Linked DNA regions of Homo sapiens: regions 1, 3, 4, 5, 6 and 7 are each linked to region 2. The links are contacts of gene promoters, found by promoter capture Hi-C in blood cells and fetal thymus (Javierre and others, 2016). All regions are on one chromosome and are shown on one strand. Each heading gives the region's core, a stretch centred on a gene start or on the middle of the fragment in contact. The rest is flanking DNA. Distances are from core to core; before and after follow the strand shown.

What was found. The method cuts DNA at HindIII sites, captures the fragments that hold promoters and counts their contacts. A CHiCAGO score of 5 or more calls a contact.
Region 1: a fragment that was not itself captured here is called in contact with the fragment with the promoter of POLR1A in region 2 in 1 of 17 cell types (erythroblasts); the score reaches 7.1 in erythroblasts.
Region 3: a fragment that was not itself captured here is called in contact with the fragment with the promoter of POLR1A in region 2 in 3 of 17 cell types (neutrophils, M0 macrophages and M1 macrophages); the score reaches 7.8 in neutrophils.
Region 4: a fragment that was not itself captured here is called in contact with the fragment with the promoter of POLR1A in region 2 in 3 of 17 cell types (erythroblasts, megakaryocytes and M1 macrophages); the score reaches 8.7 in erythroblasts.
Region 5: a fragment that was not itself captured here is called in contact with the fragment with the promoter of POLR1A in region 2 in 3 of 17 cell types (neutrophils, total B cells and monocytes); the score reaches 9.2 in neutrophils.
Region 6: a contact is called between the fragment with the promoter of CHMP3 here and the fragment with the promoter of POLR1A in region 2, in 1 of 17 cell types (non-activated CD4 T cells). The highest score is 5.4, in non-activated CD4 T cells.
Region 7: a fragment that was not itself captured here is called in contact with the fragment with the promoter of POLR1A in region 2 in 5 of 17 cell types (erythroblasts, M0 macrophages, megakaryocytes and 2 more); the score reaches 9.4 in erythroblasts.

Annotation. Positions count from the first base shown.
Region 1 is chr2:85,602,832-85,606,929 of GRCh38, forward strand. C2orf68 (chromosome 2 open reading frame 68) reads right to left here. Exons shown (of 4, transcript NM_001013649.4): 4 at 2,423-4,098. It also overlaps a transcript of USP39 not described here. Among named protein-coding and RNA genes, the nearest start is that of TMEM150A, 2.2 kb to the left of the region's middle. RefSeq lists a silencer at 1-76. The HindIII fragment of the contact is 1,143 bases long and covers 1,945-3,087 here.
Region 2 is chr2:86,103,614-86,107,654 of GRCh38, forward strand. POLR1A (RNA polymerase I subunit A) reads right to left here and starts at 2,273. Exons shown (of 34, transcript NM_015425.6): 1 at 2,087-2,273. The coding sequence starts at 2,163. PTCD3 (pentatricopeptide repeat domain 3) reads left to right here and starts at 2,622. Exons shown (of 24, transcript NM_017952.6): 1 at 2,622-2,738. The coding sequence starts at 2,635. RefSeq lists enhancers at 1,793-1,882, 2,083-2,292, 2,673-2,932. The HindIII fragment of the contact is 4,349 bases long and covers 1-3,001 here.
Region 3 is chr2:85,677,315-85,681,112 of GRCh38, forward strand. No RefSeq gene overlaps it. Among named protein-coding and RNA genes, the nearest start is that of SFTPB, 11 kb to the left of the region's middle. The HindIII fragment of the contact is 5,932 bases long and covers 1-3,798 here.
Region 4 is chr2:85,637,816-85,641,537 of GRCh38, forward strand. It overlaps USP39 (ubiquitin specific peptidase 39), which reads left to right. Exons shown (of 13, transcript NM_006590.4): 9 at 1,388-1,576; 10 at 3,161-3,303. Among named protein-coding and RNA genes, the nearest start is that of USP39, 23 kb to the left of the region's middle. The HindIII fragment of the contact is 4,567 bases long and covers 190-3,722 here.
Region 5 is chr2:85,696,209-85,700,286 of GRCh38, forward strand. It overlaps GNLY (granulysin), which reads left to right. Exons shown (of 5, transcript NM_006433.5): 4 at 1,298-1,469; 5 at 2,356-2,644. The coding sequence ends at 2,366. Among named protein-coding and RNA genes, the nearest start is that of GNLY, 3.9 kb to the left of the region's middle. The HindIII fragment of the contact is 2,607 bases long and covers 635-3,241 here.
Region 6 is chr2:86,561,184-86,565,282 of GRCh38, forward strand. It overlaps CHMP3 (charged multivesicular body protein 3), which reads right to left and starts at 2,260. Exons shown (of 6, transcript NM_016079.4): 1 at 2,121-2,260. The coding sequence starts at 2,165. All of the region lies in intron 3 of RNF103-CHMP3 (RNF103-CHMP3 readthrough), which reads right to left. It overlaps CHMP3-AS1 (CHMP3 and RNF103 antisense RNA 1), which reads left to right and starts at 887. Exons shown (of 6, transcript NR_183901.1): 1 at 887-1,064; 2 at 1,663-1,737; 3 at 2,085-2,216; 4 at 2,505-2,599; 5 at 2,794-2,957. RefSeq lists enhancers at 1,686-1,855, 1,866-1,965, 2,123-2,417, 2,576-2,635. The HindIII fragment of the contact is 23,374 bases long and covers 1-4,099 here.
Region 7 is chr2:85,655,166-85,659,217 of GRCh38, forward strand. It overlaps SFTPB (surfactant protein B), which reads right to left. Exons shown (of 11, transcript NM_000542.5): 11 at 2,149-4,052. Among named protein-coding and RNA genes, the nearest start is that of SFTPB, 11 kb to the right of the region's middle. The HindIII fragment of the contact is 1,889 bases long and covers 641-2,529 here.

The DNA.
Region 1 (4,098 bases), core at 1,266-3,765, 500 kb before region 2:
CGTCACGGGGGAAACGTGGGCGGTGTCCCAACTTCGGAGGACCTGGGCGCGGAGGGCTGTGGCGTGAAGACCGCTCTAAAACCGAGATGACTAGAGGTTCCGTTTAACCGATTCCTGCCGGGGAAGCGTCAGCAGGTGGGGATCTCGGGGCAGCCTGCATTCCAGCTCTACCTGGGATTGTCGCCGTGCACATGGCTGGAGGAGCGTCTCTCCGCCACTGCGCACATTTTGCAGCCTGCACCGGCCAACGGTGAGTCCTCTAGGAAGCTCTCTCAACGTGGCGCCCCATGCCTGCCTCTGGCCAGGGCTGCGGTGGGTCCAGAGAAGCAGACACAAAGACTTGGCTGTTTCTTAAGAAATCCAAGCGCCTGGGATTTGGCTTATGGTTCCTGTGGCTCAGCAAACTCCGGAGGAGGGCTGCTTTCATTAGATACTTTTTGCTTTCCTGCATACAAGTACACAATGTACTAGCCAGAAATCAGTGTCCAAGACGTGTTTCCCGACTGATCAACACTTATTTGAAATAAGACGGCAGAGACCAGAGGACATCCATTCTAAATAGACACATGTAGGTGTCAGTGTAGAGTAGGTAAGGATTAACATGGCCAGTGTTGGTAAGCAAAGAGGGGAAGGTGAGAGACCCGGAGGAATCTGGGAAAAGGAAACAGGATAGTGTGGGAAAAATTACTGACCAGCTTCACCAAAAACTTACAGGCTATGAGTGCATTCCTGGATGTTTCTTTTTTTTTTACTTTTTCTTTTTCTTTTTTTTTTTTTTGAGACGGAGTCTCGCTCTGTCGCCCAGGCTGGAGTGCAGTGGCGCGATCTCGGCTCACTGTAAGCTCCGCCTCACGGGTTCACGCCATTCTCCTGCCTCAGCCTCCCGAGTAGCTGGGAACTACAGGCGCCCGCCACCTCACCCGGCTAATTTTTTTGTATTTTTAGTAGAGACGGGGTTTCACCATGTTAGCCAGGATGGTCTCGATCTCCTGACCTCGTGATCCGCCCGCCTCGGCCTCCCAAAGTGCTGGGATTACAGGCGTGGGCCACTGCGCCTGGCCCGGATGTTTCTTAAATTATTGCAAGGGTGGAAATACTTTCACATATCAGAAGTGTGCCTGGCATTCTGTCTCAAAGGCGGTCCCAGCATCTGTTGGAGCCCTTGTGAGATGACAGATCATCACCTGAATGGTGCACAGGCGCAGGTTGCCCAGCGTGGGGAGCTGAAGTTTGGCAACACTGGTGAGGCAAAGGCTATGTGAAACAACAGGGTCCTGTGCTTTAGAGAAGTAGAGCAGAATAAACTGCACAATGACTTGAAGAGGGAGAAACCTTCTTGGACCCAGTGGAAAGCAGAAATGGAAGCAGAAAACCTGTTGGAGAGCCCTTTTTCTTTTGAGACAGAGTTTCACTTGTTGCCCAGGCTGGAATGCAATGGTGCAATCTCGGCTCACTGTTACCTCTGCCTCCTGTGTTCAAGTGATTCTTGTGCCTCAGCCTCCCGAGTAGCTGGGATTACAGGTGCCTGCCACCATGCCCAGCTAATTTTTTTATATTTTTAGTAGAGACGGGGTTTCACCATGTTGGTCAGGCTGCTCTTGAACTCCTGACCTCAGGTGATCCGCTCGCCTTGGCCTCTCAAAGTGCTGGGATTACAGATGTGAACCACCGTGCCCAGCGGGAGAGCCCTGTCCTTAAACACATTAGGACAAGTAGTTAAAACAGGGCCAAGAAGTATGGCTGTGTAGTGATCACTGTACAAGCACACCTGGCTGAATAAACCAGTGGGGGATAAAATCCAGCTCACCTGCCGCTGGCTATGCTTTGTGCCTCAGGACAAGGGTGTGCTTCCTTGCTAATTGACAGGAACCATCTTCCTGCCCAACTGCATTCCCACTGCGTAGGCACCTTATCTGCCCAATGGGGCTGTGAACCCTAATTGGAAGCTTTGCAATTCTTAACACTATATCTTCTTGAGCTGGGTTTGAGTCCCTATCCAATCAAGATGAAGGCCTGAGAGGACTACTCAAGTTCTAACATGATGTGGGGGCAAGGCATAGTAGTCCAGATCCGGGACATGAGGCAGCTTTTGGCTTAGTATGACAATCTAATAGTTCCTAAAATAGAATTATCCCAGGATGGAGCTCCGTATGACAGAAGGGCTCTTCATAGGTAGTTGGTAGGGGGAATTGTGTATCATGTAAGAAGTAGGACCAGATGTCTTTAAAAAGACCTTCCAACTCTAATGCTACATGAGTCTGTCTAGTTGTTATGTTCCAACAGGGACAGCTCTTAAAATAGTGTGGCAAAGCAAGAGATGAGATTTCCAGTGCTGACTCGGTGGTGGAATGACTTTAGGGCAGGTATTTAACCTCCACTTCCCCAAGTACACAAGTTATTTCACAACTCTTGGCAAAAACAGTGCTGTAAAAATCGTAAGTTTATTTGTTAAAAAAAATACTGTATTTGAAAAGTACCTTCCTTCTGGGATTTTCAAATAATTTGTACACTACATTTTATTCATCTACACATTGGAAATGAGTAAACTGGTGAACATATAGCTTTTTATACATTTAACACAACCAGTGCAAATTCTCCTGCCTCTGAGAAGGCAGAGAAGCCCTTTACTCAGAAGGTCTTCAATTCTAGCATTACTCCAACTCCTAGGGAAATTTCGGGTGGGTGCCTATGGCTGTATGACCATCTGATTCCTCAGGGACAGGACAGGAATTCAGCAAGGGAGCTTAAAATATTTTAAGTAATTGTCAACATTCCATGGTGACTCTCCCCAAAAATCTAGTGGTAGGAAAATAATCTGTACTTATTCCTCTTTCTGCACACAAAGCCCTCATTTAAATTTGTGAGCCTGCTTGGGATCCATTACCTAGCCATTCAGAGATCCTGTCAAATGCACAGCAGATTGGATACTCACCATCCCAAAGGGGTTCCTCCCACCTGGATGGGGCCAATCTCTAGTTGACAGTGCCCCTCAGAGTGCACCATGGAGATGGAATGTCCCTTCCAGAGAGACTTTTACACAGGGAAAAGCATTTGTTGGCTGGGCTCCAACTCTCATTTGGTACAAAAAGCTTTACATTCTTTTCCCTTTTTACATTACATTCTTCAAAGACTTCCGTGCTTGCCAGCTGGATAACAACTCAAGCTCTAGTGTTTACTCTTGCACAGCCCCAAACCCTTGGAAACTCAGCTTCGTTCTATCAGTGACATCACCCATTGTGGCCGAGGAACCACAAAACCTTAAAATACAGGCTTAAATTCAGCAAGCGAAGAACATTCCATATTGAATGGGCATGAGATATGCCTATCAGATTGTGTGTGTGTGCGCGTTTTTTAAAGACAGCCAATTACATCGTATCTAGTCAAATGAGCGGATTCTAAAGCAGCCTGCTGGGATGTTCCACTTAGTCTAATGCTGTTGCCACTGTACGCCACAGCACCGGACAGTGTTCTTTGGGACATCTCTGGGAAATGCTCTGGAACATGCTCCTTGATGGAAAACACTAATTTTTGAAAGAAGTAGATGTCTGGAGGCAGGTCTGGTGAATAAACTGAATAGTACTGCCTTGGACCCCAGCTGAGGGGTGGCAGTAAGCAATGAGGATGGGCTATAAAGCTGTTAACTGGCTAAGGGCCATCCTTGGGCAGGCATTTCAGACACATCTGTAGAGAGGGCAGTAGCATCTCCGATAGGCCAGCTCTGAAGGAAGCTTAATGCTTAATACAGTCACACTGCATAAATTAGCTTAGAATGCTCTCTTGGGTAAAAAATATTAATAGTGTATATGCACTTGAAAAGCAAAATTCCTCAAGAAAAAAAGTTTAATAGCAAGGAGTTTCCATCAGTCCCGGTCTTTGTGAGGATTACCACAACAAACACTTAAAAGGATACAACAGGTACTTATTAAATGCTGCCTTGCCTTTTACCTCTTCCTTTTTTTTTTTTTTTTGAGATGGAGTCTCGCTCTGCTGCCCAGCCTGAAGTGCAGTGGTGTGATCTCGGCTCACTGCAACCTCCGCCTTCCAGGTTTAGGTGATTCTCTTGCCTCGGCCTCCCGAGTAGCTGGGATGGACTACAGG
Region 2 (4,041 bases), core at 1,023-3,522:
AATTGGAATTTCTGGGCTAGCACACTGTTACCAATGATACCAGAGCTGTGGCTCAGGAGTTTATTCATCCATTTATTCAGACTTGAGGATAAAAGACAAGAGTGACACATATAAGAAGCTCAAGGATAGTGGAGGAAGACAAATATACATAAGCACAAAAAGTCACTAAAGCACCATGACAGACAACTGTATCATGTGCAAAATGACCTCACAAAACAAGGGAGGTGAACTGAGCTTTCAGGTGTGTATGTTGGGTAGGGGACAGAGGGAAGTACCTCCTTTTGGCTGAAAGGACACTGCATGCAGAGGGAATAGCTTAAAGAAAGGCCCAGATGTTGAAATATGATGGCGGTTTCTGGAATATGCAGGTGGTTTAATAGGGCTGAAGAAGGGATGATGTTATAGCTAAAATCAGCATTGGTCTGATCATGGGAGACTTTGCAGGCTATGCTAAGAAAATATACTTTATCTGAGGGAAATGGAGAACATTTGGAGGGTTTTAAGGGTGACAGTAGCATGACTACATTTGCACTTTGCAAGAATAATTTTGACAGCAGTGTGGAGCATGCACTTGAGAGGTGTAAGGGGAGGGTGGAAGGAAAAGACAATTCAAATATGAGATAAGGGCCAGAGGCAACACAGTAGCAATTGGGAGAAAAAGGAGACTAAGAACAAATAGACATGTAGGTGACACAAAGTAAGAGCCCAATAAATAAGTTATATGTCAGGAGAGATCTAGAATAATTTTCCAGTTTCTAGTGACTATTTTGCACTACGTACACCATTTTGGAGGGGTAAGTAACCCCTCCCTTTGAAGAGGGATGCCGTGTTGAGTTTTTTTTTTTTTTTTTTTGAGACAGAGTATTGCTCTGTCGCCAGGCTGGAGTGCAGTGGCACAATCTCGGCTCACTGCAACCTCCGCCTCCTGGGTTCAAGCGATTCTCCTGCCTCAGCCTCCCGAGTAACTGGGACTACAGGTGCCCGCCACCACGCCCAGCTAATTTTTGTATTTTTAGTAGAGACGGGGTTTCACCATGTTGGCCAGGGATGGTCTCGATCTCCCGACCTCGTGATCCGCCGGCCTCGGCCTCCCAAAGTGCTGGGATTACAGGCGTGAGCCACCGTGCCCGGCCATGTTGAGTTTCTGATATGCATTTAGGCCATGTTGAGTTTTTGATATGCATTTAAGATCTCTGTGTGAAATTCAATTAAAGATGTACAGACAGCTGAACAAATGGGTCTGAAAATCAGGGAAATAAATTTGCGTTGGGGATTTAAATTTGAGACTATAAATCATGAAAGTGGTGAGATTGTCTAGGGACAATATTTACCATGAAGAAAACATTACTAGAATAGAATCTTGAAGAACATCAACATTTAAGGAGTAAAATGAGGTACAGACCTTGCTCACCAATGTGTCATTAACGCCTAGCTTGGTGCCTGGAAAAAACTGGATGCTCAATAAATGTTTGTGAGGTTATAGATCGATAGAGGAAGAGAGGGAGGTAGAAGTATTTGTCATAAAAATAGGAGAACTTGAAGACAAATAAGGTTCTGGAAGAAAGGAAAGTTTCAAGAGAGTGCATTGGAGAATGTCAAATGCTACCTTGATCAAAATGAAGACTAAAGAGAGTTCCCTTGATTTAACAACCAGACCGAGAATATAGCAGGGTCCTAGCAAAGAGAAGTTAACGCCTGAACTGACACTTGAAGGACAATCATTTTACAAACAAGAGGAAACTTACTACGTGCCTAATTAACCATGTCAGGTACACTATGGTTAATTCCACAAATGCTTGTTAGTTAACGAGGAGACTGGCAGATGATAACGCTGCAGACCAGGACCCTCCCCACCCTTATATTCCCCTACCTCAGCGCAAACTCTTTCCCCCAGCACCACCGGCCTCTTATCCAGGCAGTCCACGCCGGCCCAGGAACGTTCCCAGAACTACGGCTCCCAGCAGGACAAGCGCCAGACAAGCCTGGACTCAAGAGGATAGACTGGGCAAAAGCGCTTCTGGGAATCGTAGTTTAGGGCGCCGACCTCAAGATCCAGGCTGGGCACGCTACCCGACCAACTCCTTACTTGAGCTCTTCAGCCGAATACATCCCGAAGGAAATGCCCTGCAGCCGCCGCCAGGGCATGTTCTTGGAGATCAACATCCTCCAGGTCCGTTTTGAATTCCGACACCCCAAGAGACGTTCCACTCACCACCTGACTATTCTTAATTCAACCTCAAGCCCGGAGTCACCACGCGATTCAACGTGCGCTTGCGCGCGGAAGCGGTCGCAGGAACGACATTTACGTGGATGAGATCACTTCTACATGGGGGGGGAACAAATAGTTGTACGACTCTCTGCTCGCTCTTTTGTTTTGAAAACAATCAAAGATATATAAGACATCAAAATAATCATTTAGGAAAATTCCTCCGAGGCAAATCGGGTGTATAGAGCTTTTAGCTTCCGTGACGAAGTCTTTCAAACCATGAGCTTGCAACCTCCCATTTTATGATTGCTTTCGTCTTCTTCCGCTTCAGCCAATAGCGGAGCTGTTCCCTGCTCCCCGCCCACTGCGCCCCACCTTCCTGAAGGTCGAGGCACGCTTTCCCAACATGCTCTGCAGAGAAATCAAAGATGGCGGTTGTATCTGCTGTTCGCTGGCTGGGCCTCCGCAGCAGGCTTGGCCAGCCGCTGACGGGTCGGCGGGCGGGTTTGTGTGAACAGGCACGCAGCTGCAGGTAAGAGACGCTTAGGGTATCCGCGAAGAAGACCGCGGAGTCACCTTAGTCCTATGTTTCCCAGCTGGCTGTGGAAGTAGGCACGATGAAATGGTTTGCTCATGCGCGCCCTTAACGGTCGCGTGCCCTTAAGACCAGGTACGCGGAGGTGGCCCTTTGAAATAGGATTCGCAACGCATTTATTCATTAGAGAAATACTTATTGGTTGCTTGCAATATTCTGTAGTTAACACCATCCGCAAAGCTAGGACCCTGCTCTCATGAAGCTTGCGTTCCAGTGAGTGTGGCTATTAGCAACACTACCCCAAATTAAAAATTATCCGCCATTACTCATTTTAACCCAATCAGGAGGAGCGAGGAGAACGTACAAGATCTTCCCAAATAAAAGGCAGTCTCTGGTCGCCACCGTGGGGACTTTGGCTAAAGAAGTTATCAGGTTTTCGTAAAAGCAGAAAAGTCTAAAAGATCTGACTATGCCCTTTTGATCTGTGATAGTTATAGCTTGGAACATGTATGACCTATCTGTGTAATTTTTTTTTCACTCAGTACAAACAGTGGCATTGTGGGAATATGAGAGGCAGTAATTTGTAGTGAAAACTTGCTAAAAGCCTAATTTTAGGTTTAGTGTTTGCCATTCACTTAATTGGATGATAATAGACAGATTTCCTCATCTGCAGACTAGAGTTGGTAATAACCATCCGAAAAGTTTGTGAGGTATAAGTGGGGTATGTAATTTACAATATGTTTTTATATGTACTCTCCCTTAGTTCCCCTCAAGAAAGAGAAACCACTCCATCTGATACTGCAGAAACCTTTGTGCTGCCATTCAATGCCAGTCCTCCGTTTCCTGGTAGCCATCGTTAGCATTTTTCTACTCATTTTCTTTGCCTGAAGCAGAATCTCTTCCTCAGCATCCGTTCTCAAAATAACTGTGATCTCTGTTTTAAGGTCATGAGAAACAAATAGTGTGACTTGAAAGAGTTGATCTCAGAAACTTGAAAGAGTTGATCTCTTTCTGAAATGTCCTTAACGTAGAGGGGTATTCTTGTTTTAAATGATACCTGAAACCAGATACTACTGGAGGAAGTATCTGTCTGTGCAATCACATCTTGACAATTTTCTGAATGTTACTGATGCCATTTAGTAAGGGGAAACACAAGATAATACTAACCGTCACATTATCTGTGGTGTGTTGACTGTGTTTTTAGTGTGATCAGAACACTTAAACAGAACACTTAAAAACTCAGTCATGGGCCAATGATTCTATATTTTGGTTTAAAAAGGATTTCATATTGAACCTCTGA
Region 3 (3,798 bases), core at 991-3,490, 430 kb before region 2:
TTTTAGTAGAGACGGGGTTTCACAATGTTGGCCAGGCTGGTCTCAAACTCCTGGCCTCAGGTGATCCTCCCGCCTAGGCCTCCCAAAGTGCTGCGATTACAGGCGTGAGCCACCGCGCCCGGCCTAGCATATTTAAATTTTAATGCACACTGACAATAGGTCTCCCAAGATGTCATGCTGACATCTCCTCTGAGCAGTATAGAAGACAGTGCCTTTCTCCTGACTGGAATTGTGAATCTTTTTCTTTTTTCATTTGTGGTAAAATACACATAACCTAAAATTTGCATCCTAGGCCAGGAGTGGTGGCTCACGCCTGTAATCCCAGCACTTTGGGAGGCCGAGACGGGTGGATCACCTGAGGTCAGGAGTTCTAGACCAGCCTGGCCAACATGGTGAAACCCCGTCTCTACTAAAAATACCAAAATTAGCTGGGCATGCTAGCGGGTGCCTGTAATCCCAACTACTTGGGAGGCTGAGGCATGAGAATTGCTTGAACCTGGGAGGTGGAGGTTGTGGTGAGCCGAGATTGCGCCACTGCACTCCAGCCTGGCCGACAGACAGTGAAACTCCATCTAAAAAAAAAAAAAAAAAAAAAAATTTACATTCTAACCGTTTCCAAGTGTACATTCAGTGGCTTTATGTACATTCACATTGATGCGCAACCATCACCACCATCCATCTCCAGAATGCTTTTCACCTTCCCAAGCAGAAACTCTGTGCCCATGAAACACTAACTCTCCTTTCCTCCCATCCCCTGACAATCATTCTACTTCCCATCTCTAACTCTCTTTTCCCCCATCCCCTGACAATCATTCTACTTCTCCTCTCTAACTCTCCTTTCCCCCATCCCCTGATAATCATTCTACTTCCTGTCTCTATGATTTTCACTGTTCTGTGTCCCTCCTAGAAGTGGACTCATATAGTATTTGTCTTTGGTGACTGGTTTATTTCACTTAGCAGAGTGTCTTTTGGGTTCATCCATGTTATCATGCATCTCTTATAATTTCCTTCCTTTTAAAGGCTGTGTGCATACACCGCATTTTGTTTATGGAATTATGACCCTTTTAAATGTCCCTAAAATTGCACCTGTTGGCTGTAGCTGCGCCTATAGGTTGTAGCTGGAGGACATTCCTGCCCATTGTTGGTTTCTGTTCCTTTCTGCCTTTCTGACCCAGCCTCCAACTGCTCCGGTCTAAGGAGATAAGAAGCCACACAGGCCTCTGGCAGGGGCTGGGTCTCCTTTCTGCAGGAAGTGCTTCAGGCCCCTCTTCTTGGTCTCTCCCTGAAGTAAGAGGCCTCAAGTGGAGTCCTGAGGGGCATGATGAGGGCTGTGCCCTGAACAGGTGCAAAGTATGGAGGGAAAATGTGGAGCCTGAGGAAGGCATCTTGAGGCTGGAGCAGGGAAGGCCGAGTGGGCACCTCCTTAGTTGAGCTGCCTTAGGACAAGGGAGCAGTGATGGTGGCTTCAACAGGAAAAGAGAAGCTGATTCTGACTGGAAGGGCACCAGCTGCCATTCCTGCAGGAACGAACAAGTGTTTTCCCAGGAAGATGGGGTCAGGTCGCTGAATCTGATGGGTCCTGGCTCTGTGCCCAAGTGCTGTTCCAGGCACAGGGTGGGGGTGACAGAAGGGGCAGCGCAGCCCTGCTCTCACCAAGCCACCTGTATGAGAAAACACAACAAAGACATTCCTTCAGCCACTAGGAGCCTCTGTCTCCAGGAAATTACCATGAAACCCCTAAGTGTAGTGGCTCAGGGCCACAAAGCTACGTCCCATGCCCAGGCTCAGGCCCATTATGTGTGGCCAGGGACTCTGCTCATCACAGTCACCCCGGGGCACAGGCTGACTTGCAGTGGTCGTCTTGAACACTGCCCATCATCATGCCAGGAGAAAAGAGAATTCTGGGGTCTCTCCCTGGCTGTTAAATGTTCCAGTTGGGAAGGAACAGGCTTAACTTCTGCTCAGGAAGCAACCTGGCAGGACGCCACCCAGCCTTCCCAACCCTCACTCGCAAACACAGGGCGGCCAGGGAGTGCAATTCCAAAGCAGGACCGGAAGGTGGCGCCCGGGAGCCAGGTGGAGATGCACCGCCCTGGGCAGCGCGATCCCCACACCTTGCCCTTCGCGGACTTCGCTGCAGCCCAACTTTCTTGGGGCAGCTGTTTCTGCTGAACTAAAGGAACACCAGGGGGTCCAGTCTCTCGACACCCCAGGGCCCACGCACCTGCTGAGGAAGGCGCTCCTTCATTACAGGCGGCAGCACCGAGTACCTGGGCTTTACAACATTTTAACCTCCCCTCCCCTCCCCTTCCCTCATTTTTCTTTTCTTTTCTTTTTTTTTTTTTTGACGGAATCTCGCTCTATAGGCCAGGCTGGAGTGCAATGGCACGATCTCGGCTCACTGCAACCTCTGCCTCCTGGGTTCAAGCGATTCTCCTGCCTCAGCCTCCCGAGTAGCTGGGATTACAGGCATGTGCCACCACACCCGGCTAAGTTTTGTATTTTTAGTAGAGACAGGGTTTCACCATGTTGGCCAGGCTGGTCTCGAACTCCTGACCTCAGGTGATCCGCCTGCCTCGGCCTCCCAAAGTGCTAGGATTACAGGCGTGAGCCACCATGCACGGACAAGCTGTTCTTTCTTACTGTTTACACTTATTTGTGTATATATATATATTTTTGAGATGGAGTCTCGCTTTGTCACCCAGGCTGGAGTACAGTAGCACAATCTCAGCTCACTGCAACCTCTGCCTCCCAAGTTCAAGCGATTCTCCTGCCTCAGCCTCCCAGGTAGCTGGGATTATAGGTGCCCACCACCACACCTGACTAATTTTTGCATTTTTAGTAGAAGTGGGGTTTCACCATGTTGGCCAGGCTGGTCTCGAACTCTTGACCTCAAGTGATCATCTGGCCTCGGCTTCCCAAAGTGCTGGGATTACAGGTGTAACTCACCACGCTGGGTCCACTTATTTGTAATTTGATCATTGTCTTCTCTCCCACTAGAAAGTAAGTTCCATGAGGGCAGGCCCCATGTTCATGTTTACTCATCTTCCTGTTCTCAGTGCCTGGCGGAGTACCTGGCACAGAGTAGCATTCACTTGGTGTTTGCTGAATCAATGAACATGACCGAGGGCTGCAGTCTGAGGTCTGGAGGCTTTGCAGACTGGTTGGGGGCACCATCCTAAAGGCTATCAGAGCAACTGCTGAGAGAGACTCCAACCAGGCTGGAGCTCCACTTGTAGCAGAGTCCCAGTGTTCTGGCTGGGCAGGGAGTAGGGCAGTTCTGAAAATTGACAGGGAGGTCTGCCCCAGCCCAGCCCCCAGGGGCTCTTGTCCAAGTCCCAGTGACAGGATGTCTGCAAGTAAATGCTGAAGGAGATGCTTCAGCTAAAAGCTCCAGGACATGTAGGTTCAAATGGCCTAACAAACTGGGAAACCAGAGTGGAGGGGAGACATTCTCATTTCAGGATAGACCCTGGCTGCCTTGGGGCCTCCAGGGTGCTAGGGGACACAGCCCAGCTCTGCATCCCTGGCAGAGATGGCCACATCCAGCAGGCCCTGGTGGCACTGCAGAGAGAACAGCACCCTGGGGACCAATTATCCTGGGAAACAGGCTGGTGCCTATCCAGATGGTGGTGCCAGGCACTGCCACTGTACAACTGGCTGATTTGGTGAATAAGTTGCAGACATAATTGAAGGGCAATTTGTTGGGGATGTAAAGTACTGCAATGGCCCACAGGGTAAGAGACAGTAAAATAAGGGTAAATGTCACCACTCAGAATTTACACACAGGTTGGTATG
Region 4 (3,722 bases), core at 1,223-3,722, 470 kb before region 2:
CCTCCTGAGTGGCTGTGATTACAGGCGCTTGCCACCACGCCCAGCTAATTTTGTATTTTTAGTTGTGACGGGGCTTCACCATGTTGGTCCAGGCTGGTCTCGAACTCCTGACCTCAGGTGATCTACCTGCCTCGGCCTCCCAAAGTGCTGGGATTACAGGCGTGAGTCACCGTGCCTGGCCCTCAGCTAAGCTTCCTAGATGGTCTTAGAGCTTTTCTTTTTTGAGATGGAGTTTTGCTCTTGTTGACCAGTCTGGAGTGCAATGGCATGATCTCAGCTCACTGCAACCTCCACCTCCCAGGTTCAAACCATTCTCCTGCCTCAGCCTCCGAAGTAGCTGGGATTACAGGCATGCGCCACTATGCCTGGCTAATTTTTCTATTTTTAGTAGAGAAGAGGTTTTACCATGTTGGTCAGGATGGTCTCAAACTCCTGACCTTAGGTGATCCACCTCCCTTGGCCTCCCAAAGTGCTGGGATTACAGACATGAGCCACCGTGCTCGGCCCACTTTCTTTTTTTAATGGATTTTTTTTCCTTTTTGAGACAAGATCTCTGTCACTCAGGCTGAGTGTGGTGGCGTGATTATGGTTCACTGCAACCTCAACCTCCCTTGCTGAAGTGATCCTCCCACCTCAACCTCCCCAGAAACTGGGACCATAGATACACACCACCACACCGGGCTAATTTTTATTTTTATTTTTGTTTAATTTAATTAATTAATTAATTTATTTATTTTATTGAGACGGAGTTTCACTCTTGTTGCCCAGGCTGGAGTGCAATGGCACTATCTCGGCTCACCGCAACCTCCGCCTCCCGAGTTCAGGTGATTCTCCTGCCTCAGCCTCCCGAGTAGCTAGGATTACAGGCGCCACCACCACGCCCGGCTTATTTTGTATTTTTAGTAGAGACGGGGTTTCTCCGTGTTGGTCACGTTGGTCTTGGACTCCTGACCTCAGGTGATCTACCTGCCTCGGCCTCCCAAAGTGCTGGGATTACAGGTGTGAGCCATCATGCCCGGCCAATTTTTTTTTTTTTTTGTAGAGATGGAGTCTCACTGTGTTGCCCAGGCTGGTCTGGAAGTCCTGGACTCAAGCAGTCCTCTCACCTTTGTTCCCAAAGTGTTGAGATTACAGCCGTGAGCCATCACACTTGGCCTCAGGGCTTTTTAGATAGTCTGGTATATAAGCAAAATATCTTTAAAGAAGGAAACCTGTTGGTTCTTAAGTTAATCTAACCAGGTGGTGCATGCCAAACTGCCCAATCTCTCGGGCACTTCTCTTTGTTCTTTCAGATGAAGGAAATGTCGGCGTGGTAAAACATCGGTTCTGTGTTGGTTCCTATACCCGTCACACTCCTTTCCTCTCTTTTCTTCTCATTCATTTCTAGCCAGCAGAAGAAAAAGAGCAGTTGCTCCATAATGACGAGTACCAGGAGACAATGGTGGAGTCCACTTTTATGTACCTGACGCTGGACCTTCCTACTGCCCCCCTCTACAAGGACGAGAAGGAGCAGCTCATCATTCCCCAAGTGCCACTCTTCAACATCCTGGCTAAGTTCAATGGCATCACTGAGAAGGTAGCCCATTAACACACCTGCCCTGCCTATACTTACCCTCGCTCTCTCGACTTTTTCATTTTCTTTTTTTTTTTTTTTTCAAGACAGAGTTTTGCTCTTGTCGCCCAGGCTGGAGTGCAGTGGCGTGATTTCGGCTGACTGCAATCTCTACCTCCCAGTTTCAAGCGATTCTCCTGCCTCAGCCTTCCTAGTAGCTGGGATTACAGACATCCGCCACCATGACTGGCTAATTTTTTATATTTTTAGTAGAGACAGCATGTTGGCCAGGTTGGTCTCGAACTCTTGACCTCAAGTGATCAGCCTGCCTCGCCTCCCAAAGTGCTGGGATTACAGGCGTGGGCCACCACACCTGGCCCATTTTCATTTTATATGTAAGAATCACCACATGTATGTGACGTATTTATTATAAATTATATTGACTTTATTGAGCCTCCCAGACTCGTTGGTATTTCTCACTGGTCACCCCCAACTCTTAACTTATAGTGCCCCTTTTTATTATTTTTTGAGACAGGGTCTAGCTTTATCACCTAGTCTGGGTGATCATGGTGGCGTGATCATGGCTCACTGCAGCCTCAAACTCCTGGGCTCAAGTGATCCTCTCACCTCAGCATCCTAAGTAGCTGGGACTAGACACACTCCACCACATCCAACTAAGTATTTTTGTAGAGAGAGTGCTCACTTTGTTGCCCAGGCCATTCTTTAACTCCTGGCCTCAAGGGATCCTCCCACCTCGACCTCCCAAAGTGTTGGGATTACAGATGTGAACCACTGCCCAACCACAGTGCCCCCTCTTGTACTTCTCATATATCCTGTTTTCAGCTTTCTGCCTGCCTCTGGGGTAGTATAGAGAAAGGAAGGTCATTTAGGAGAGGAGAAACTCCAAAAAGTGGGGAGACATACTTTTTTTTTTTTTTTGAGATGGAGTCTCACTCTGTTGCCTAGGCTGGAGTGCAGTGGTGTGATCTCAGCTCACTGCAACCTCCACCTCCCGGGTTCAAGCGATTCTTCTGCCTCAGCCTCCCGAGTAGCTGGGACTACAGGTACATGCCACCATGCCCAGCTAATGTTTGTATTTTTAGTAGAGATGCGGTTTCACCCTGTTGGCCAGGCTGGTCTCGATCTCCTGGCCTCAAGTGATCTGCCTGCCTCAGCCTCTCAAAGTGTTGGGATTACAGGCATGAGCCACCGTGCCTGGTTAGTTTTCTTTCTTTACATATATATATATATATTTTTTTTTTCTTTTTTTTTCTTTTTCCTTTTTAGTAGAGATGGGGTTTCACCATGTTGTCAAGGCTGGTCTCGAACTCCTGTGCTGAAATGATCCCCCTGCCTCGGCCTCCTACAGTGATAGGATTATAGGTGTGAGCCACCAGGCCCGGCCTTTTTTTTTTTTTTTTTTTTTAAATCAGCCTTAGCCAAACTGCACATCCTAAGCCTCATACATAATTTCTCGGACCAGGAGTCTTGTGAACTTAAGTGTGAGGCAAAATTATATTTTAAAAAATCGAAATGAAAAACTCATGCCCCTGCTCTAATACTACTGAACTTCAGCACTAATTTGAGAATTTTCTTTTCTTTCTCTAGGAATATAAGACTTACAAGGAGAACTTTCTGAAGCGCTTCCAGCTTACCAAGTTGCCTCCATATCTAATCTTTTGTATCAAGAGATTCACTAAGAACAACTTCTTTGTTGAGAAGAATCCAACTATTGTCAATTTCCCTATTACGTAAGTAACATCCTGCCTCACTTCTCTCACGGGGAGTGAACCTGGATTTCTTCTCTTGTATTTTTACCAGTATTAATTTTGGACTGTCTTAGTTGGGGATTACAAGGAACAGAGCCTACCTACAGTAGATAAGAGTTTTTATTGGAAGGATACACTTATTTCAGGGACCACAAAAGATTGATGTTTATTGGGATGCAATCCCTATTTTATCTTCTCTCCTGTTGCTAGCTGGAAATTATAGTCTTCCTGCGTAGAGAAGAAGAAATGATGCAAGTAGGATAAGACAGGTAGGATTCTGCCTGGTTTGGAAGATGTCCTGAGTAGTGAGGGTCTGCCCATCTATTTGCTGGCCATCACACCTTTTTGCACACTAGAGTTGTACTAGATGCTTTTAGTTTGCTTCCTTCCAACTCAGAAAA
Region 5 (4,078 bases), core at 688-3,187, 410 kb before region 2:
GTGGATGAATTTCAGAGAACTTGTGAAATTGTGACTCTCTGGAACTGTGTAAGTCAGACGGCAGAGTATACATGGTTTTCATCATGTATCCTCAAAGAGGGCTTGTCCCAGAGAAGTTAGGAATCTTCCCCTAAAGCCCTAACATTTGTGTCCAAGGCAGAGTTTGAGAAGCTAGTTCCCCAAGAGGCCTGGGTCAGGACTGATAAATCCCAGATCTGCTACTTCCAAGCTGCATGGCCTTGGGCAAGTCACTTCCACTTTCTGAGCCTCTGTTATCTTATCTTTGAAATGTGATGGATAATAGTCCCTATCTTGCAAGTTGTCAAACCCTTTTTTTTTTTTTTTCCTTGAGATAGGATCTTACTCTGAGACCCAGGCTGGAGTGCACTGGTGTGATCTTGGCTCACTGCAACCTCTGCCTCCCTGGCCCAAGCAATTCTCCTGTCTAAGCCTCCTGAGTACCTGGGGCTCCAGGTGTGCGCCACCATGCCCAGCTAATTTTTGTACTTTTGTAGAAACAGGGTCTCACTGTGTTGCCCAGGCTGGTCTCCAACTTCTGAGCTGAAGCAATCCACCTGCCTTGGCCTCCCAAAGTGTGGGATTACAGGCATGAGCCACTGCACCTGGCTGCTGAAGCTTTTTAAAAGAGCTGAGGGCTGGGATGTACTTAGCTCCACGTCCAGCACTGAGTAAATGCTTAACGAATGACTGTGTTACTACCAAGAATTATTGTTTCACTCTCCCTCCTTCCCTCTCCTCTGCTGCCCCAAACTACTCAGCATCCTGGCACTGCAGGCTCGCACTTAGCCCTGGATACCCAGATTCATCCTCCTCCCCTGGGATGGCATAGAAGAGACTTTAAAACCAAATGAGCCAAGACTCCAAGCTCTGACCACACCTCCCACCCCACCAGTCTTCTCTATGCACCCCCTCTATCTGGAGCCCCCAGCCAGGTCCTGGACCCAGGTAGCTACATGGCAGAGCATTTAATGTGTGCCTGGCAGCCATGGGCACCATTCTCCACACAGAAGGCAGGGGACAGGTGCACAAGGCGCTGAGACCCCAGCAGGGCTAACTGTCCTTGTCTCAGGAGCCCTACCTGGCCAGTCTTGGGCCAGGCCTTGGGGACTGGGAGTAGGGGCTGAGCCCCGTCTGTACAGTCTCTGGCCCCATGGGCACCAGGTGCCAGCTCCTCGCACCCAGTACTCCCATTGCTAGGGCTGCTGGAACCTGCAGGGTGGCAGAGCTGGGCAGGACTCACCCTATAACCATGTCCACTGTGGTGCTGCTGCTGCAGAGAAGTGTTTCCAATGCTGCGACCCGGGTGTGTAGGACGGGGAGGTCACGATGGCGCGACGTCTGCAGAAATTTCATGAGGAGGTATCAGTCTAGAGTTACCCAGGGCCTCGTGGCCGGAGAAACTGCCCAGCAGATCTGTGAGGACCTCAGGTTGTGTATACCTTCTACAGGTGAGTGCAGAGGTGACAGCAGGGATACCTCCTGAGGGTTGGAGACAGCTTCCCCCAGGATATATCAAAGCTGCCTCCTTACTCCCCCATCTCCCAGCTTGGGAAAGTGTGGAGAATTGAGCAGATGGACTTTAGCTAGAAATGTTTGAGAAATACTGATTAGAGCTTGGGCTTCAGACACAGGTGGTCGTGGAGTAAAATCTGGTCTCCATCTCTCCCTGGCTGTGTGACCTTAAGCAAATAACTTGACCTCTCTGAGCTTCAGTTTCTTCATCTGTGAAGGGGAGATAGCAATCCTGATTTTTGAGATTGGAATGAGAATTGAAGGAGGTCACCGTGTGTGTGGACCTGACCCTGGGGAAATGTCCTCAGACTGAGGCTATTCAAGGTCATCAGACCCTCAGTCAAACTCCAATCCCAGCCCAGCACAGGCCCCTGGGGTCGGGAGCTGGGGCCATATCCTCCCCCACAATCCTGGGCCCTGAGATCTGGGCTAGGGAACCCTTCAGGCAGGGGAGCATGAGGCCTTTCCCTCCATGGCTGCCCAGGCTGTGCCTGGAGAGAACAGATCTCGGCTGTAGGAAATGGGGCCAGAAAGGGGCCTCGGTGATTGGCTCTGGCAGCTCAGCTGGCACTTGCCAATGCTCTGGGATTTTATGCTGGCAGATCGGGGGTCCCCACCATTTCCTGTCATTGGAGCTTGTGGCTTTTCTATTCAAGGCCCCACAACCTGCTCAGGCTGCCGACTGGCTTCCAGGATGTGCCTCTGGGTGTGTTCAGTAGGGTCAGGTGGCTCTGGGACCTTAAGCAAGTAACATTCTGAGTGCCTGCTTCTCCTTGAGGACCCACCACATCTGCCCACAGCTGGCTGTTCTCTCCTCTCCAGGTCCCCTCTGAGCCCTCTCACCTTGTCCTGTGGAAGAAGCACAGGCTCCTGTCCTCAGATCCCGGGAACCTCAGCAACCTCTGCCGGCTCCTCGCTTCCTCGATCCAGAATCCACTCTCCAGTCTCCCTCCCCTGACTCCCTCTGCTGTCCTCCCCTCTCACGAGAATAAAGTGTCAAGCAAGATTTTAGCCGCAGCTGCTTCTTCTTTGGTGGATTTGAGGGGTGGGTGTCAGTGGCATGCTGGGGTGAGCTGTGTAGTCCTTCAATAAATGTCTGTCGTGTGTCCCATACACTGTTGTAGATGTTATGGATTTAGTGGTGAACGAGACAACCTTAACAGCATTCACACAGTTAGTCGTGAAATGCTTACTGAGCACTCACCACAGCCATGCGTTATTCAGAAAGGCCAAGGCACACAGTGGCGATGTCCCCAGAAGCTCTCAGACCAGTGGGATAGACCAGCAGGGTTAGAGGTGTTTTTGTTTTGTTTTTGGTGAAAAGGAACAGAAACCCATCCTCTTGCTTCTTGCGACAGGCAGCCTTCCTTTGCGGTTTCGGGGGAGTGTATCTTTTAGGGCCCTTTTGGTTGCAAGCAACAGAAGTCTCAGCCCATTCTGGCCTAATCAAAAAAGATAATTTACTGGTTCAAATAATTAACCAGTCCACGGGTATGTTCAGGCACAGAATGATCCAGAAATGTGTGGCGTCAGCAGAGCCCCAGTCCTGTTTTATTGCAATTTTTCGTTCTCCCGACCTCTGTATATTGAAATTGTCTTCAGGTTCGCTTCTCTCTTGGCAGCAGAAATGGCTTCATCAGGTCCACACTTCACCTCTTTACAGTGCCTCCATCAGAGGGAGAGAGAGCTCCCTTGGAAAGAAATAGGAAGCTTCTTTCCCAGAAGGCCTATCAGCTATCTCCTCAGTTCTCATTGGCCAGTTCTCACAGGTCATTTGCCCACCCTCAGACCAATCACTGTGTCCTGGAGAATAATGGGGTACACTGATTGGCTTAAGCTAAGCAGGGCACACCCCTGGAGCTGAGGTGGGGTCCATCTCAACCCAATCACTTGGTTGACAATAAACATGAAAATCTGGGCTACTGTTGGTGGGAAGAGGGAAAAATGGATGCTGGCCACCCAAGGAGTATGGTGTGTTATTCTGGGTTCAATCAAAGAAGCTGTTCAAGGGGACTACCGATGGCCAAATCTGGGGCTATTTGAGCCTCAGAATAGATGATGACAAGAACAGATCGTAATCCATTGAATAAAGCAGAATCCATGAATTCATACAAATACAAATAATACATGAATAAATAAACAAGGGAAAAGGAAACGTGCTACCTTACAATACAATTACAGTTAATAAATGTAGACATAGTTGCAAAGTATATCCTACTAACATATTTGGTATAGTGAGTATATCATATACTAACTTGATTTTTTAAAAGTGTTTATTTATTTATTTATTTATTCTTTAGAGACAGAGTCTCACTTTGTTTCCCAGGCTGGAGTGCAGTGGCCCTTCTCAGGCATGATCTTAGCTCACTGTAGCCTCAAACTCCTGGCCTCAAGGGATACTTCCACCTAGGCCTCCAGAGTAGCTGGGACTACAGGTGTGCAGAACTGCGCCTGGCTCACTAATTTGATATTAATTAATACATTCCATTATTAGTTAACCTGACAGTGGAGAAGCCTGTCAGCTGATGAAAGTTACTCCCACCTC
Region 6 (4,099 bases), core at 1,010-3,509, 460 kb after region 2:
ATAATTCTAAGTATAGGCCTTAGAATACATAACCTCTGGTGCTGTAATTCACAAACTGTATGACCTTGGGCAAATTACCTAAATACTGTATGCCTCAGTTGCCACCTGTAAAGTGGAGACAATAACAGTTCCTACCTCATAACATTGCAGAGTGCTTAACACAATGCCTGGTTCAATATGTTAGCTAAAGGTGGTGGTAGTTAGGGCTAATCTTAATTCACTCTACAATCTTGCTACTCAAGTGTAGACCAGCAGCATCAACATCACCTGGGAGCTTATTAGAAATCTCAGACCCTATCCAAGACCTACTGAATCAGATTTTGAATTCTGACAAGATCCCTAATGATTAGTGTGCACACTAATGCTTGAGAAGCACTGCTCTACAATACCCAGACTTGTCCATAATGGGGGGAAAAACAACTAAAATTTTTTATTCAATAAATGATCTTACCTGTTCGGCTCTGGCAAGCATAGTTTTAAAAACCAATCTCATGCATCAACCCTGCCATTTTCCAGTGTCAATCAGCTTTCTCAGGTAGATTACCCTACTGAAGAGTGTACCAATATCGTGTTCTTAGCAATTTATCATTTAAAAACAATCTAAGTGTACAATATACTAGAGTAGTATAGTAGTACATATACTAGAGACTAGTTTAAACAATAAAGCAACCATTTCCCCAGCATCTTTTTTGCTTCTCCATAATCTTATCTCAATTTACGAATGGCAATGCCAAGGCCAAACACTGAAGACAACAAATAATCTCTCCCTACCACACTTCTACAATAACAAGAATCTTAGAATATACAGATGTCACAAAATGTGCATCTATATAATGTTCTATAGTTTCCAAAGTGATGTTATACCGTTATTTCATTTAAGCGCCACAATTTTTATTTTACCAAGGAGCAAAACTGAGTAAGTTTCCTGACGAAAATAATGAGTGTCTACTGTTCTAGGGCCTTTAACAACAACAACAACAAATTTACATTAACGCACATTATGTGCCAGGAATTGCAAGATGCATAAGATTAGTTTTTAAAATGTGCCTGCTAGAGCTGAACAGGTAAGATCATTTATTAAAGGATTTCAGGATTTTTTTTTTCCATTATGGACAAGCCTAGGTGTTGCAGAGCAGTGCTTCTCAAAGCACTGATGTGCACACTAATCATTAGGGAGCTTGTCAGAATTCAAAATCTGACTCAGTGGGTCTGGAGTGGTGTCCGAGATTTAACAAGCTCCCAGGTGATGTTGATGCTGCTGGTTGGCATTTGAGTAGCAAAGCTGTGCCGTATTTAAAGAATTAGCCCTAACTACCAATATGAAAACTTTACATCCCTGAATCTTCAATTACTCTGAGGTGACACTACTATTATTCTGGCTTCACAGTCGAGAAGGCACTGAGAAGTGAACTTTCCAGAGATCACAGAGCTGAGATGTGGGAAGGCAGGATTCAAACTTAGGTTGACTGACTGCAGGGCATTTTCAACTGTTTGCCTCCCAATATTATCTCAATTAATAGGTAACGAGAGTTCGAAGCCGGGTCCAGAGCTATCTTCTGTAACATTCTTCTGGGTCGAGTCCCTGCCCCGCTACGGTATGTGCCTAGGGTCAACACAAGGGCTGGGGAAAGAGGAAACTGAGCCTCTTTTTCAACACAACAGGGAGGACGGAGAACAGACGGCTCCTCCGGCAGACGCGACCCGGCCCGCTCCAAACAACGCTTCGGGCAGGAGAAGGTTCTCCGGGTGGTCCGCAGCCGGGCTGGAGGGGTGGGGCCTACGCTGGGAAAAGGTTCCGGGCGGGTCGTACCAACGCGCGCAGGGGGAAGAGGTTTCCGAGGCCAGGACGGTGTCGCTGCCTACGCGCTCAGTGGCGAGGTGGAGAAACTCTTCATCCACCCTCGGCTACCTGTTCGAGAGCCATGGCACCAGGAGCTCTCGCGTCCCACAGCCGACTCCTAAAGACTCTTCCTCCGGCCCCCCTGTCGAGTGGGAGTCCCCGGAAATGGGGGCCGGGCGGTATCGGGCAGGCGGTGGGGAGAAGAGTGTCCTGTCATTTACCAACTTCACTACGCCCCACACAGATCCACCCGCTTATCTGCCGCCGCCGTAGCCCTTACCAGTTCTTTGGGCGGCTTCTCCTGGGTCTTTCCAAACAGCCCCATGACGAACTGAACCCGTCTTGCCCCTTCCGGCTTTCAGTTCCCCGCGCCCAGGCAGGTCACGGGCAGCCGCCTGGGCGGGGCCCGCGGAAAAGGAGGTAGTCCCAACCCCCAGAGTAGGGAGCGGCGGCACTAGGGGATGTTGCGCATGCGCCATACGCCTGCGCAGAATCGAGTGAGTGGGAGACTAGTCAAAAAGGCTGACGTCATCGCACATGTTCTGGTCATGTCTGTGTGGGGGAGACCACGGATTCGGTGCTTTTCGTAAGGTGTAGAAATGATTGCTCTGAAAGATACGAATTTGTTGGCTACAACTGCTTCTAATACTTCACCTAAACCTAGATGTTGCACCAGAAGTCTGGATCTCCACGCAGACGTGTACACTTAGCATCACTTTCCCGACAGCTTCATCTTTGTGTCCAGTAGGCAACTCACAGGTGACAAACCAAAAATAACCTCTTTTTCCTCCCGCCAACCCACTCCTCCCCTCTGCTTGCACCACCATCACCTGGTCACTAAACCCTAGGCATCGTCCTCTCTCCCCTCTTACCAAGTCCCAACCATTCTAACTTCAATATGTCTGAACTTCAACCCTCCCCTTTCCATCCCAACTGCGGTCGTTTTTTTTCAGGCCATCGCCCTTTCCAGCGTGGGCGATTCCTGCCTAGCATTTGTCCATGTGTGTCCCGTCCTACACGCCACACTGACCGTGAGCTTAATCACACTCTCAAAGGAATCTGACTAAAGAGAACTAGACACATTTTAGCACGGACAGTTCCTGATTAGGCCTATACGGTGAGCTGATGGTTACTGTCATTAACTCATCCGAGGATGGTGAAGGGGACCATTTGTTACCTCAGCCCCATACTCCTGTCTCTGGTGGAATCATAAAATGGTTCGGCAGCTTTGAAAACATTTTGACAATTTCTTAAAATGCTAAACAAAGCCAGCCTTCCATTCCTAGCTATTTACCCAAGAGGGAAAAAAGCATATGTTCTTACAAAGACTTGTACACAAATGTTCATAGCAGCTCTATTTGTAATAGCCATAAACTGGAAACAATCCAAATGTCTATCAACAAGTGAATGGATAAACCAGTCGTGATTGATCCATACGAAGGAATAGTACTGAGCAATAAAAAAGTAAACTATTGATAAATGCAACAGCATGGATGAATCTCAAAATAATTCTGCCAAGTGAAAGAAGCCAGAACCGTATGATTCCATTTACATAACATTCTGGAAAATGCAAACTAATACATAGTGACAGAGAGTACATGGGCGGTTGCTAGCGGATAGGAGTGGGGTCAGAAAGAGGCAGAAAAGAGGGATTACAAAGAGACACGAAGTTTAGGGGGATGATGGATAATATCTTGATTGTGATGATGGTTTCACAGATGTATACAATATCAAAACTTACCAGGTTGGACACTAAGTATGTGCGATTTATTTTATGTCCAATCATACTTCAATAAAGTTGTTTTTAAAAAAGCACTGCCTGTTCATTGTGAAAAGTTAAACCCTCATTCTCACTTCCTCAGGGGAAAAGGTCTCAAAGGATTCACACCAACTATTAAATATAGTGTGAATCTTCTGAAACCTTTTCCTTTGGAAAATATACTTTTATTTTTATTTATGTATTTGTTTTTGAGACCGGGTATCACTTTGTCACCCAGGCTGGAGTGCAGTGGCAGGATCTTGCCTCACTGCAGCCTCTACCTCCCAGATTCAAGTGATCCTCCCACCTTAGCCTCCTGAGTAGCTGGGTGTCAGCCACCACGCCCACTGTGTTTTTAATTTTTCTGTAGAGACAAGGGTTAGCCATGTTGCCCAGGCGGGTCTCAAACTCCTGGGCTCAAGCGATCCTCCCACCTCAGCCTCTCAAAGTGTTGGGATTACAGGTGTTAGCCACCTTGCCCGGGCCTATTTTTACTTAGT
Region 7 (4,052 bases), core at 335-2,834, 450 kb before region 2:
TTTTTATTTTTTGCAAATCGTTGATAATAGTTGCTTAAAAAAGAAAGGGCCGGCCGTGCGCGGTGGCTCACGCCTGTAATCCCAGCACTTTGGGAGGCTGAGGCGGGTGGATCACGAGTTCAGGAGATCAAGACCATCTTGGCTAACACAGTGAAACCCCGTGTCTAGTAAAAATACAAAAAAAAAAAAAAAAAAAAATTAGCTGGGCGTGGTGGCGGGCTCCTGTAGTCCCAGCTACTCAGGAGGCTGAGGCAGGAGAATGGCATGAACCTGGGATGCGGAGCTTGCAGTGAGCTGAGATCACGCCACTGCAATCCAGCCTGGATGACAGAGTGAGACTCTTGTCTCAAAAAAAAAAAAAAAAAAAAGTAAGGGCCAGCCATGGTATCTGACGCCTGTAGTCCCAGCACTTAGGGAGGCAGAGGCAGGAGGATTGCTTAAACCCCAGAGTGATCGCACCACTGCACTCTAGCCTGGGAGACAGAGCTGTCATGTGGCAATTAGCAATAATAGTAGATACTTACATTTATTGACCTGAAAAGGTTATTGTTAAATGAACAGTGCAGGTTACAAAGCAGCATGTATAGGATGTTTCCATTTTGTAGATCTGCTGTATCTGTTTTTGTATATGTGCACAGAAAGCTTTGGAATTATAGATAATAACATGTTAATAATGATTATGTCGTGGATTTAAAATTTCAGTTATTCATTAGGGGGACATAATGTAATTATCTTTATTTCTCTATAACTGAACTCATTTTGGCTCATGAGCCCTCAAAACATATTATTTCCATTTCGGAGTAACTCATTCCCTTCTTAATACTCAGCCTCTCTTGGCTGACTAACCACTGAATCCTCTTTCCCCTTTCCCTGGGAATGATTTACAGATTGCCCTGCGGTGAGGAGAGGCACTGGGGACTAAGCATTCCCTGGCCATCCAGGTCTCTCTGGAGTGTCTCTCGTCTTGCCTGATCATCATCTTCTTGTGCCATCACTGCTACACATCTGATTTCTGCTCATCTCAAGATCCACTAAATCTGTCACAGATTCATCCCCAACCGTGGGCTCTTACGGGTGCACCATCTTGTCCAGAGCCAATTCTGACTGCCTCTCGGTCTGTGGGTTGAGGTTGCTCTTCTGCAACCACATCACACTGGGAACACTCTGTGAGGCAGACCTCAGGCCAGCTGCCTAGCTCCATCCCTCAGGCTAGCGTCCTCACCCTTTCTGATGTCCTGTGAGAGGCAGGCTTCTCTTAGAAGCCCACACCCTGGAAAGTGAAGAATAAGTCCCCTCCTCTTGGGCTATAATCCCTCCTGGGACTTCTCTTCCCCCAACTTCCTAAGGGCAGAGGTGCAGGATGTTGGACACTTCTCAGGGACCCTAGGAGTCTCAAGTGTAGCCACTTCCTGCCAATTCTGTCCTCCTACCAGCTAGTCAACTCTTTTTTAAAATTATTTATTTATTTGTTTTTGAAATAGGATCTCTCTGTGTCACCCAGGGTGGAGTGCAGTGGCATCATCACGGCTCACTGCAGCCTTGACCTGGATTCAGGCGATCCTCCCACCTCAGCCTCCTGAATAGCTGGGACCACAGACACACACCACCATGGCCAGCTAATGTTTGTATCTTTTTTTTTTTTCTTTTAGACAGAGTTTTGCTCTTGTTGCCCAGGCTGGAGTGCAGTGGCGCAATCCTGGCTCACTGCAGCCTCTGCCTCCTGGGTTCAAGCAATTCTCCTGTCTCAGCCTTCCAAGTAGCTGGGATAACAGGCATGCACTACCACATCCAGCTAATTTTGTATTTTTTTTAGTAGATATGTGGTTTCACCATGTTAGGCTGGTCTGGAACTCCTAACCTCAAGTGATCCACCCACCTCAGCCTCCAAAAGTGCTAGGATTACAGGTGTGAGCCACCATGCCCAGCCAAATTTTTATATTTTTTATAGAGATGGTGTTTTGCCACGTTGCCCAGTCTGGTCTTGAACTCCTGGGCTCAAGTGATTCACTCACCTCAGCCTCCCAAAGTCTGCCAATTCTTGACCTCCTTTTGAATGAAGCCGCCTTTTTCATTATCAGGCACTCATTCCCACTCATATTTTTGGGATAAACTATTAATGCCTCCAGTTCTTCAAACATTGGCTCTTCATTGTCTCAATCAAACTTTTTTGTTTTTATTTTTTTAAATTTAAAACACCCTTTTCTCTCAGAGAGTTGGATTTTGTAATGGAAACAATGGCTTTAAGGACAGTAGTTAGCTATAGATTTACAAATGTCTACTTAAAATCCAGGAGCCAATGAATTGTGTGTCTCATCCCCAGGCCCAAGAGCAGGCTGCATAGACAGCTCTTTCTGGCGCTTGAACGGTGGAGGTGTGGAGCCAGAGGCTGTGGGGAGAAGATGGAAAAAGCCCCAAGCTCAGTGTCAAAACACACACCCTGCCGTAGCTCTCTCCTGGGCTAGGTGGGATTGTGGGTGTCACATGCTTCCCTGTGAAGAGACTACCAAACAGGCTTTGTGTGAACAATAAAGCTTTTTAATCACCTGGGTGCAGGTGGGCTGAGTCCAAAAAGAGTCAGCAAAGGGTGGTGGGATTATCATTAGTTCTTGTAGGTTTGGGATAGGCGGTGGAGTTAGGAGCAATTTTTTGTGGGCAGGGGGTGGATCTTACAAAGCACATTCTCAATGGCGGAGAGAATATTACAAAATACCTTCTTAAGGGTGCGGGGGTGCGGGCGTGGGGTGGGTGGGGAGAATATTACAAAGCACCTTCTCAAGGGTGGGGAAGGTGTATTGTCACAAGGTCAATTGATCAGTTAGGGTGGGGCAGGAACAAATCACAATGGTGGAATGTCATCAGTTAAGGCAGGAACTGGCTATTTTCACTTCTTTTGTGGATCTTCAGTTGCTTCAGGCCATCTGGGTGTATACGTGCAGGGCACAGGGGATATGATGGCTTAGCTTGGGCTCAGAGGCCTGACAGTGGGTAATTTCCACTCTCTTTGTCTGTAGTTTCTGAATTTCTTACAAGAAACATGTATAAGAAATATGACAAAAGTTATTTTATAAATAAAGGGACACTTCCAGGCATTTCAGTCTTTAAGAAAAGCTAAGGCTTGTTTGGCTTTTTGTTTATTTTTAGGTTTTTGGTGTCCTCATGACCTAACCTCATCCCAGTGAGTAGAGACTGGGAGGGGAGAGCAGCAGCTGGAGGGCAGGCTGGGAGCGCTTGTGAGGGAGAGGAGCTATGGACGTCTGCTTCTCTGCCAAGGGAGAGAGTGAGGTAGGCCTGGGCCCGCTGACTTCAGGGTGAGGCCACAGCTACTGCAGCGCTTTTTATTTATTTATTTATTTACTGAGATGGAGTCTTGCTCTGTCACCCAGGCTGGAGTGCAGTGGTGCAATCTCGGCTCACTGCAACCTCTGCCTCCTGGGCTGCAGTGATTCTCCTGCGTTCAAGTAATTCTCCTGCCTCGGCCTTCTGAGTAGTTGGGATTACAGGCATATGCCACCACACTTGGCTAATTTTTTGTATTTTTAGTAGAAATGGGGTTTCACCATGTTGGCGAGGCTGGTCTCGAACTCCTGACCTCAAGGATCCTCCTGCCTCGGCCTCCTAAGGTGCTGGGATTGCAGGTGTGAGCCACCACGTCTGGCCATACTGCAGCACTTTAAAGGACGGTGTCTTTTTCTTTCTCATAAAAGAGAATAGGACTTTATTAGCATTGGTGCAGACATTGTATTACACAGGAATGGGTCCCTAGCTTGCACAACCCCAGCTGAGCTTTCAGCAGATAAATCACAGCAGAAATAGAATCACCCTAGGACTTTCAATCAAAAGCTGGAAGTCCACCTTACAGAAAGACAAAAAGAAACCCCTTTTTATATCTTAACAAAGCAATAGCTCTCAAGCAGCAGAGCATCTCGAGGAAGAAAGCTTGCCCGGTCGCCATCCCATCATGCCAGAGCGTGCAGTGTCCACCCTTGACTACGCTGGGGAATTGCTGATTTTTTGAAAAAGCTTAACTTAACAATTTCTGATGTCTATCTTTT